2 separate regions of the Homo sapiens genome follow, and region 1 is linked to region 2. The links are contacts of gene promoters, found by promoter capture Hi-C in human tissues and cell types (Jung and others, 2019). All regions are on one chromosome and are shown on one strand. The core of a region is centred on a gene start or on the middle of the fragment in contact, and the rest is flanking DNA. Distances in the headings are between cores, read along the strand shown. Region 1 overlaps CDH6 (cadherin 6). Region 2 holds the start of CDH6 (cadherin 6).

The links. Contacts are between HindIII fragments. The study calls those that stand out against the background at their distance.
Region 1: a fragment that was not itself captured here is called in contact with the fragment with the promoter of CDH6 in region 2 in 1 of the 25 tissues and cell types used here (aorta).

Annotation. Positions count from the first base shown.
Region 1 is chr5:31,227,661-31,233,626 of GRCh38, reverse strand. All of the region lies in intron 1 of CDH6 (cadherin 6), which reads right to left. Among named protein-coding and RNA genes, the nearest start is that of CDH6, 37 kb to the right of the region's middle. The HindIII fragment of the contact is 4,132 bases long and covers 810-4,941 here.
Region 2 is chr5:31,192,057-31,198,008 of GRCh38, reverse strand. CDH6 (cadherin 6) reads right to left here and starts at 4,323. Exons shown (of 12, transcript NM_004932.4): 1 at 4,123-4,323. The HindIII fragment of the contact is 7,217 bases long and covers 1,079-5,952 here.

The DNA of each region.
Region 1 (5,966 bases), core at 1,626-4,125, 37 kb before region 2:
CAGAGTAAGTGAATTAGAGTAAGAGATGAGATGACCAGAAATTTTAATGAGTAATGATAAGCAATAACAAGGAAATATGATAAGCAAAGTTTTTGTTTTGTTTTTTTTTTTTGAGACAGAGTCCCACTCTGTCATGCCAGCTGGAGTGCAGTGGCATGATCTTGGCTCATGGCAACCTCCACCTCCCAGGCTCAAGCGATCCTCCCACCTCGGCCTCCTGAGTAGCTGGGACTACAGGTGTGCACAACTATGCCCGGTTAATTTTTGTATTTTTTTTTTTTTTGTAGAGACGGGGCATTGCCATGTTGCCCAGGTTGGATAAGTAAAGTTTTTAAAGCTTTGATTAAAATGTTTGTAATTTATCTCTCTTCTCTTTTAGCTTTTATACTTTATTTTTTTGTGTAAAATATGCTCCTTATAATATATACTCTCTGTATGTGTATATGTGTGCATTTGTGTGTATATGTGTGTGGATGTGTAACATGTGAAGGCGTATGTGCATATATAAGTGTGTTTATAGAGATATGTCTATGTACGCGTGTGTGTGTATTTGTATATTCAGTTGTTCATTGCATGGTAAGAAACAGCATGATATAGTGAACTTTGGGCTGCCTGGGTTTGCACACTGGCTCTTCCATATTCTAGCTCTGCAACCTTTGAAAGGTTATTTAACTTCTCTGTGACTCAGTTTCTTCATCTGTACAACGGGGAGTATTAAAGGACCTATTTTGGAGGAATGTTGTGAGGATGAAATGAATTAATATATGGAAAACTCTTAGAACAATGCCTGGTGTATGGTACATGTGGCAATAGCATAAGTGCCATATAAGTGTTGCATTTATAATTTCCTCAACAGATAACATTTTATCCAAATGAATAGATGATATTGTAATTAATAATTCCAAGTTACATTCTCACAAGCAAAACCAATAACTAAAAAGCCTGACTTGATATGTTTTCATTGGCCACTCAAATCCATTTGCTTTGCAAACTTGTTTGAACTTTTCTTTCTTTTCAGAATATTTTTAGCTTAAAGAGGAAACTACTTATGTTTCTAAATTGGGACAGTTAAATACTCCTGTCCTGGACCGAGGGTGCAGCCAAAAACGTTTTGTAGAGATTAAGGGTGCATTAAACGTATGTCCACTTGAGGGAGCTCTAAGATTCCTCCAAAGCCTGGGTCTTAGAGTCTAACCAGGCTGGAGGCAGCACCTATGACACTGGGTTGGGTTAGTGGAAGAAAAATGTGGAAGAAAAATTTAAAACGTCCAGAATGAAAGCTTGGAAAATAAAGTGCAGGGTAGTAAAACTGATAATTATTTTACTGTTTTCCAGTTATGTATTTAATTGAGGGGAACAGAAACACTTTTTTGAGAACTTCAAACGGCTCAGCTGGAAGCACAGGAATTAGCATAAAGTGAAATATTTATGGGAGCTTAATACTGTTTAAGACTCATTTTCTCCTTGCCTTAAGACATGAAGTCAAATTAACCATTTCTAATTAAAGAGTGAGAAACAAAGTAGTGTAAGACCAGAAGTAGAAGCTAAATGGTGATGCCTAAGTTGTGAAGTCTGAAACAGTCACTTGACATAGAGGTCAAGAATGGGAAGATACAAAATAATTCCTGCAGAACAAGAGAAACAAATCAGGGTGATTTGAAAAGAAACATAATTATAGTAGGCTTACTCTACTCCTTAAGTGAATATTTTTCTTCTAAGAGCAAAGGTCTAAAACTGGACATGGTAATGCCCTTTTATCTCTTTATGTTAGAGGCTGAGCTACAGAGGAAGTGCTATGGTTTGAATATTTATCCCCTCCAAAACTTATGTTGAAATTTAATCCCCAGTGTGGCATTATTGAGACGTGGGACCTTTAAGAGGTTCATGCATGGATTAATGGATTAATGAAATAGTGGGTTAATGAATTAGTGAGTTATCATGGGGAGTAAAGCTGGAGGCTTTATAAGAAGAGGAAGAAAGATCTGAGCTAGCACACTCAGCCTCCTTGCCATGTGGTGGCCTGTGCCACCTTGGGACTCTGCATAGAGTCTCTACCAGCAAGAAAGCCCTCACCAGATATGTCCCCTTGACCTTGGACTTCTCAGCTCTCCAAATTGTAGAAATAAATTCCTTTTCTTTATAAATTACCCAGTTTCAGGCATTCTGTTACGAGCAACAGAAAATGGACTGAGACAGGAAGCGTCCATGAAATATTCAAAATAAGCTGGAACTGCTTTAAATATGATTCATGGGAATTCTGACCCCGCCAAACAGTAATCTGTTAAGGATACTAAAAAGGAAAGAAATTCCCAAAGGGCAAGGAAGACAAAATCCTGGGAATTTCAGGCCAGTCTTTTTCTCCTTATTGCTAAACCACTATGGAGATACGCAATGATTTGATTAAAATATCAATTTTATGCACATAATTTAATTTTAATTGCATCGTGAGTAATCTGTTAAAAAGAGTTTGAACATTTGGCCTCTAAATCATTATAGGCTGAATCACCCTAAGATGAAAATAAGGCAGTGAAGACTGTTATCCAGAAGAAAAGAAAAATATTGCATTTGAATATACTTTCAACAAATGAAAACTATAATTAAAATATAATCATGTGATTAGAAGAATATTTAAAAGAGCATATTGTGTTTCCTGCATATTTTTATATGTGTAGGTTTTACATTTTAAAGAGTTTGTTCGTCTTAACATGGATTTAAGCATTTTGCATAAAGATTCACACTAATCTTTTCATTCACAGTTCATGAAGTCCCCTACAATTGTTTATTAATTAGCATATAATATTTTTACCTGGATGCTATACTGTATTGTTTAGCTTCTTTTGTATACATCTCTAATTTCTCTTTAGAATTATTTTGAGTTTGATTAAACTCAATGGATTTGTTGTTCTACTTGAGGACACAATCAAGATTATTCTGCAGATGGTTTCTAAATCATAGGTTAGTTTTTAAAAAAATAGCATTTTCATTTTTGCACGGAGGATTTGTTTCTCTTTGCTTTGCCTATAAGTTTCTTTTCTCATTTTTCACTGAGTACATTACTCATGGTCTTAAACATCTTCCGCTGCTTTCTTAAAGATGCAACAGGAAGATACATCTGTAGAGGAGGCCTAATGCTTCTGAATTCTCTGTTAATAAATACACTGGAAGTGTATTTTAACGGTGTTTAACATAAATACTTTAATACATACTCTCAGAGACTCTTTTTCTAGTAAGTGAAGGAAAATGAGCCAGACTTTTAAAAAAAGATATTCTCTGCCTGTGATGGTTATACAGACAAACCTGTGTATGATCCCCTAGTGAGTTCTCTATGTCTTTGGAGAAGTCATCTACAGGACAGAGATGACTTTTCTCCCATGCAAGTTAAGTTGATCTTTTAATTTGCAATGGTAGACCCTAAATATCACCTTGAGTGAGAACCTGCAGGAATTCAGAGGCCCTCAACTTCTTAACTGCTGTGTCTAAATTGGGACTTCAGGGCTCTTTCTGTGCCAAAGAGAAAGCAAATTCTCTTCAACTGGGATATTCTGCAAGGAGCGGAATCACTGTTATTTTGACTTTGTTGTTCAGACACGCCACAGTGGCAGCAGAAATAGCATCCGCCAATTAAACGCCCATACAGCATTCAAAGGATATGGAAGATAGAATTTAATTATGAAACAGATGACACTACTCAATCTTAATTGTCATACCAGGATCCAAGTCACTGGCCTGATAATCACCAGCCAGGAGAATGGAGAGCAAAGTCCCTTACGTCACCAAGGGCAAAAAGCCTCAGCCCGTAATTATGCTGCTCCTTAATAATCCCAATTAAGAGCAACAACAACAAAAACACAAAACTTCTTCCTATGTTCTGTGACATTAAGTACTGAGAAATGTTTATTCAGCTACTATGATGGTCCACAATTGCATTTCTCTTTGTCATAATTCATTCTTTCACTAAAAAATCCTTAGGTGGGACTCCGGAGTTTCTTGAATTCTCACAAGTGTTTTCAGAGTTAGAATTCTTTTTACATAAAAAAATTAACCACTTATTGGTTTAGCCAATAATATCAGGGGAACTAGAGACCTATAAAAGCTTCCAAATTGGCACCAGCCATACAGTCGTAAGAGCCAAGCTGCCTTAACAACTTGTTACAAATGCCTAACAGCTCCAGAGAGAAAATATTTTCCTGAGCCTCCAGTTCCTCATTCTGTTTTGCTTTTCTGCAAACTTCACAAAGATAACAGGCAATATGCTTCATTTCCTACCCTCCAATCTATTTTGGCCAAACATTTAATTTCTAACCAGTATGGTGACCAGAACTGGATAACAAGAGGTCTGTTAGCCAGGGTAGTAAAGCACCAGATTTGGAGTCAAACCAGTAGGCTTGCAGTCTTTGTTTTGCCCTTTCTTCCTTTATCACTGACTGAGTCTCTTCACCTTGATCGGACTCAGGTTTTGGAGAATCGGGTAGAGCTTGAGGGCTGTGTTGTAGATTAAATAAAATGATATAGTTTGGGCAGTTGGTACCCTTGGAAATGGCACGCAAGTGCTAGTTAGTATGACGGGTAATTAGACCTGTCAGTGTCAGAATGGAGAAAGAACTAACCTGTATTGAACATCTACTAAGAGTCTATCATTATATAAGGTACTTTTGTACTTTTTATGCCCTATGAGAGATGCATTATTTTCCCCACATTACAGGAAAGGAAATAAATCTTGGAGAGATCAAATAACATGCCTAAGATCAGGGGTTCCCCAACCTCTGGGGCCATGGACCAGTACCAGTCTGCAGCCTGTTAGGAACCCGGCCACACAGCAGGAGGTGAGTGGCAGGTGAACCAGCATTGTAGCCTGAGCTCCGCCTCCTGTATTAGAGGCATTAGATTCTCATAGGAGGGCGAACCCTATTGTGAACTGCGCATGTGAGGGATGCAGGTTGCGTGCTCCTTATGAGTATGTAGCTAACGCATGATGATCTGAGGTGGGACAGTTTCATCCTGAAACCATATCCTCTGCTCACCCCACCACATCTGTGGAAAAATTTTCTTCCACAAAACCAGTTCCTAGTGCCAAAAAGGTTGGGGACCACTGCCTAGGATTGTACAACTGGGTTATTGGCAAAGCTGGGGTGGGAGTCCATGGGTGTCTGACCCTGGGACATACTTTTCTCCATTCCACAAAGTTTGGAATCAAGGTGAATGCAGCTTCCTTCTCCAGCTGATTCACTTCCTGAACCTTGGCACTGGGGATCTGCAGCAGGCAGAACAAAGGCCTTCCAAATATGCCCACGTCCCAATCCACAGAACTATGTTATTAATACCTCACATGGCAAAAGAGACCGCAGATATGGTTAAGGATCTTGAGCTGTGGAGATTATCCTGGATCATCTGGGTGGGTCCAATATAACCACAAAGGTCCTTAGACCTTAAAAGAGGGAGGCAGGTGGGTCAGAGAAGATGGGACAGTGAGGCATGAGTCCGAGACAAAGAGAGAGAGATTTAAACATGCTACACTGTTGGCTTTGAAAATGGCGGAAGGGGCCAAGAAAACAGGTGACCTCTGGAAGCTGGGGATGGTAAGGAAGTGGCTTCTCCTCTAGAGCCTGTAGAAAGAACACAAGCACACCGACAGGCTGATTTTTAGCCCACTGTAATCACCTCTGACCTCTGACCTATAAATCTGTACGAGAATAAGTTTGTATTGTTTTGTGGTAATGTGTTTTGTGGTGTGCGTTGCAGCAGCAAGAAGCAACTAATACTGGTTCCTTGTCTTTTCTGGGTTTCTTAAGCTTCGTTTGTTTAGATGTAGGATGGTTAAGGTAGGGGTCCGTTCCCTCAGGAGGTGGGATGGAGCATGGAGACTGGGCATGTTGATGAGCAGGGAATATCTGAGAAGCACGGCCACAGCTTGTGGCTGACAGGGAAGCTATATTTGATTCTTTACAGAATAAAATTGGAGTTGGAGG
Region 2 (5,952 bases), core at 3,074-5,573:
TGGGTGATAGCATCACAAACACTATACACATTTGGTTCAATAGCTAATTAGAGAGAACCTGAAGTTCCTCATAAGATTGTTTTGAAAAAGAGAGGCTTCTGTACGAATAGAAACTTAAAAAAGTAGACCAGTTAATCTTTGGAAAAGGCAAGCTGGAACAAAAATATTACTATTTAGTTTCAGTAAAGTGCTTCAAGCACTCATCTGTCTTCAAAATAAAATAAAAATCCCAAGGGAGAAAACAACATGAAAAAAACGAAGAAGAAAAGAAAATCAGCCCATATGCTGCATTTCTGTATTTCTTCTCTAATATTCTTGGAACATTGTCACAACTGGGTGCTGTGTTTGCGTGTGTGTGTATGCCTTCTTCTTTCTGCAGTTCTCCTATTACCATAATGTTCTTGAGTCTTTGAATTTAGAATCATTATTCAGAAAAATATTTAAACCAGAGAAAGTTTGATTGTCTACATTTTCACTTTTTTTGTGAAGTAAATAAAGTGTGCTCAGTAGACACTGACTAGGTTGAAACACTGTTAAGAATGCAATTCAGACTGAGTCACTGCTTGTTATTTTTATAAGTGAGACCCTAATTCTGACGGACACCAAAGAATAAGCAGCCATGACTAAGCAAGAAGCACAAGGCAACTGGATTCTGCTGGATGTTATCTTATTTGGAACACATTTCAAACTTTAGAACAGATTTTTAAATTGGAAGTTGAAACCTGCAGGCTGTCAGCAGAAGAGGCTGATTCACCCTACAGAAATTATGCTGCTCCAAGTTCCAGGCAGAGTATTTTAAGGAGTAGGTTACCTAAAATGTGTTGTGATACATCAAGGAAAGAAATGAAACAGAAAAAACCTGGAGTAAGGATGACACAGGTATCTAAACAGCTTTTGGATGTTCAACATATATTTATTTGAACGGGGAATTCTTTGAATTAGATGGCCTTAGTTCAGCATAACTTGTGAATGTTCACAGATTTCTGAAACAGTCATTGCACTTTTTTTTCCTGCAAATATTTCTTTTCTTGTTGTTGGTTGGGGGGCGGGGGGCGGCGGCGCTCTTCATGTAGAACTTTTGGAGTTCTAAATATAATGTTATTATTGTTATTGAGTAAATTAGAAGTAAGGAAGTAGAGTCTTGGAAAAGATCAGAAATAAGAAAATCTTATATTGATGATGGTAAATTCTTTATTAATTGGCCATTGCTTTCATTTGGAATCATCCAGCAGTTACCAAAAGTCTAGATATTCAGAAAACCATAAAAATATTTGTAAGTCCCCTAAATTAGAGGAAGTACAGAAATAATAGCAATAATGATTTGACCTGTCACAAATATTAAGATAGTGCTTAGAGAATACTAACTTGTCTACAGAGAAAAAGTTGTTATACTCTTATCTTAGGTAACAAAATCCATTCTGCAGCTGAACTCCAGGGAGAAATGCATGGAGTGACCCACTAGAGGTCCCTTCCAACTAAAAAAAGTTTGAATAGTTCAAAGGATTCAGCCTTAGTGTGTTGGCATTCGTGACTGCAAAGCAACTACCGGGCCAGAAGGGGGGACCACACATTTCAATTCCTTAGGAAGATTGTAGTTTCACTCAGAATATTGGTCACATTTCATTCCTTTTAAAGAAATCTCTGTGGGACATTCACTCAATTAGTCCTAATTTTCAGATTTGGTGCTATAATAATACAGTATCATATAATACCCTGTGACTGTAGCTGTGCTTTCTAGAAAATTTTTAGCTGTTTTCAAGTGTCTCGAGCAGTATTTTGCAAGGTACATTTTTTCTTAAAAAGGAAGAGTGCCTCACTAAGTTTTTCCTTGCAAAGCTGATGGAAGTGGTGGGTGGAAGAGGTAGGGTACACGTTTTTTGATAGTAGGCAACTTGGTAGAAAATGATTATGTTTCCATATATTATCTTTGCAGAGTTAGCAGTACAAAATGTAAGTGCAATAAATTGGTGTAAAAGCCAGATAGTAAAGGGACTAAAAGTCCCTATGGAGATACCAAACTGTCACTTTCTTGTAATGGTAGCAAAAGATAATTGTAGACACAAATACAGTAGAACTGAATTGGCACCATTTTCCTTCAAAATTGGGCTGCTGCCTCTTAGTTTTTCTGAAGAAATTGGTTACTTCCTCTGCTTCAAAAGTATGGCATGAACCATTACATTAGGTGGGAAAAGATCTGTCTTTTATTTTCCTTCAGTACCTTTTTAATTAGAACACATCAAAGAGCAAAAGGGGATGAGATACAACCCTATGTGATTGCATTTTCCAGTCAATTGTTGGGTTTCTTTTAAGTTTCTGAGCTCTGCATTGACAATCTGGCCTCTGGCATAAACTTTACCCTCCTGGTTATGACATAATGAAGACATCTGCTCAAGCATACCCCTTTCTTCACACAACTGGTTTTACGGTTCTCTAAAATGCAAGCATAGAGCCGTGCAAGTACTATTACACACGGGATGATGCTCAAGTCTCAGGTGAAACTGGAAGAGATTTTTTTTCTCTCTCTCAAAGTAAAATCCTAAGGGTTTTCCTTTTCAGGTAAAGCTTTCAGCAAGAAAAGAAAGGAAATAAGCAACCCTTGGCACTATTCATATAAGCATATTTGTTAGTCCTTCTTGGAAGAGTTGTACATTAACTAGGCATATCCCTGGGTTCCTTTTTCCAACACAGGGAGGAGTTTGCAACCCCCTGGATAATTAACCACTCAGAAAGCCCACATTTTGATCTGCACCCCTCCAGAGCAGCCATATATGTACACAACAGCCACTCCTGCAACATTCTTGCAGGGAAAACCTCTTCCTTCTTTCCCACTGTGTGCTTTACGAAGTGAAAGTGAAGATTCGCAGAGACACGGTCTGATACACCTCTATAGTATGACTATCATCATTTAAATTTTTTTTTTTTTTAATGGGAGTAGGAGACAGAAATGTGTGGCTATTCCAGATGATTAAACTTCTTGGTTCTTGAATGTTCTGAGTCATAGTTAACTCAGGTGGCCAGCCCTTTGCACTGACAGAGACCTGCATTTAACTCCCCATAAAATATGGATTTTATTGCAGCAGTGACACTTCTTAGCACCACGCTGACCTCTCCAGCATCTCCCATCTCGAGATCTACGGTAACTCATGACAGAATATCTAACTACGGAAGAAGTAATCTCAGCTCTGCAACTGCTGCAGTCCACAACATTGCAGCGTCCCTTTTTATTAAATTCTGGGATTAACGCATTGGGGGCTCCAATTTTCCAGCATCTGGCACCGAAAACCAAGCGCACTCCAACCACTCTCCAATCAGTCCGGGGAAGGCTTTATCCCCCAGATTTGAGCCTGGCCAGCCGTGGAGGAGCACGAGCGAACTGCGCCTTCCATATGACTTTTCCCTGGACAGTGTGCTCCATTTTCGGAGTCCAGTGTTGGACTTTCCTTGCAACCTAAGCATTTCTGTCCTAGATGAGCCGGCAGGCGTTGCCCGGAACGTGCAAGCTAACAGTTTTCTTTAGCTCCTTCTACCAGCCAAATCGTCTCTTTAGTTTAAGTTTTCCTTACTGGGAGCATTCCAGAGTTTTCAGACTACCTGATTTTCTGCTTTACCCCAAAAGCTAAGAAATGTAACTCAGCCCAAGCAGTCACCACGCAGACCCTTATGATGCGGGCAGGTGGAGATAAATCAAGCCCCAAACGGCTCGGCGGGACCTGCACGCACCAGCGCCCTTTGGTAATTGACCAGCCAACTTTGCAAATGCCAGAGCTCCCCTGGCAGCCTCTGCCGGCGTAGAGAAAGGCAGCGGGTTCTTCTGCGGCGGCCCGCTTCCCGGTGCCCCCACCCAGCCCCACGGCGGATCGGTCTTACCAGGAGGCGGAGGAGCGGTGCCCAGGCTCCCCGGGAAGCGGCGTCGGTCCTGAGCAGCGGCAGCAGCGCCGCCCGCGCAGCCGGACCCGCGCGCCCGCCCCGACCCGGGCTCGCAGGCTGAGAGCATCCCTCCCAACTCCGGCGCGGCACCCACCGGGCGGAGAGGGCTCTCTCTCTGATTGGCTTCTATCAACGCTACAGAATTAAAAAAAAAAAAAGGGAGATGTATGCATAGCCAACGGAGCCCGAACCCACCTCTGCTCGCCTTCCTGCGCCCGCGGAGACCCTGCGACCCGCCCAGGCTGCTCCTGCCTCCGCCGCCGCCGCCGCCGCGGTCGCCGGCTCTGCCGTTCTTGCTGTCGCGGCTGAAACTGCAGCTCTTGGGATGCGAAGGTTACGGGCTCGGGAGAGCTGGCTCTTGTGGGCACACACTGATTTGCAAGTGAATGAAGTGGGAGGGAGCAAAGAGAGGAGGACTTTGTTAAAGAGGCCCAGTGCCTGCCCCCGCCCGCCCCCTCCCCTTGACAGAATGACTCCCAGTGTTTGAAGTCCTGAGCAATTCGCTCCCTGGAACACTCCTTCAGCCCCAGGCTTTCCCTTGCTTTCTTTCTTTCTTTCTTTCTTTCTTTTTTTTGTTGGAGGGGGTTTAAGATATACTCAGAACTTGTATGACTCCGTCTGTTTCCTCTTTTGTACTATCAAAATGCACCTTGTGCTATTATCAGCAATGGTCTGATGTTCTTTTTTTTTCACCGACCAAGCAATTACAATTCCCAGGGACACAGTACCTCGTCACTCTATCAGTTGGCCAGCTTCGTGTGATAGCACGTATAACATGCACACACATAAAACAAGCCGGTCTCCTGAGATGACAATACCGATGGCTTTTCTTTACAACATAAACAGGCGTTCTCCAGATGCAAGCAGACATGGATAGATTCATACATGTCTTTCCTTCTCTCCTCCCAGGAAGACACGCTTTCACGTAGCCCCATGATCTCTGTTACTCTTTTGGAGTGACCCCAGGATGTCGTAGCATGAAGCCATGCTTCCCTGGGCTTGCAGAAACACTGAAAACCCAAACCCTTCAGGCTTGCCAATGACTTATGACTGATGCCATCGTTCTAAATGAATTGATACAAGCATACAAAAGACTTGCAGAAGAGGGGTGTACAATGATATTCAAGGTCTGCTTAACGTTCGAAGATCCTTCTGGAAAGTTGCCGAAGTTGGATAACCTTCAAATTAAACTCTTTAGTACACATAGCTGTTTGAATGGCTAGATTGATAGTTACAAAGAGGTAATATCTAATGTTAAGGTACTAAGCCACAAAAATGTGAAACATGTCAAAGTACCATTAAATGAGAGTAATGATTTTCTACATAGGAGACATAGGCATGATGGAGTCAGCCACTGTTGGATTAGGAAAATTAAATCTAATTACCACAGTGATTGCACCCAGGGTCACTAGCCTCCCAAACCAGCTGTTCGCCTGTGCTGCAAGTTCTCAGGGAGATTTCCATTGCACAGAGCTCTAAGAAATGCCAGGCTGCTTGGCCTCTGAGTAGTTAAACTGGCTGGAGGTTGGTCCTGTTCCCAACTGAGCTCTTACTAGAAAACCTTTTGTTTCTCCAATAGAAGTTCAGGCATTTAAATAAAGCCCAAATCAAAAGTATTCCTTTAGGCAGCCAGTGCTTCAAAGAAGTGTGCATGGAATGGTTTTAGCACAGATGTTCTGCACATGGAAGATGGAAAGATTTGAGTTTCTTTCTGGAAAAGACCTTCCCCAAATGAAGAATTGCTACCAATTTGTGAGAAGAGGCTGAACATTTTCTTTTTATAGAGCTCTTTAAACACGTATGAAGTAAGAATGGGGGAGAAGAAAGCTGCTTTAGATTCATAGTCCATTCGTCAGATTATGAATTTCTTATACATTTAATTGGAAATATTAGCTCTGTGTGTCTGTGTAGTCCTTTACTGTTTACAAAGTACTTTTGTAGACTATTTTATTTAATTCATCCTTCAATAAGTGGTGTCATATTTTCCCAATTAAGACAGAGAAAACAGACTGATGAAGAGACAAC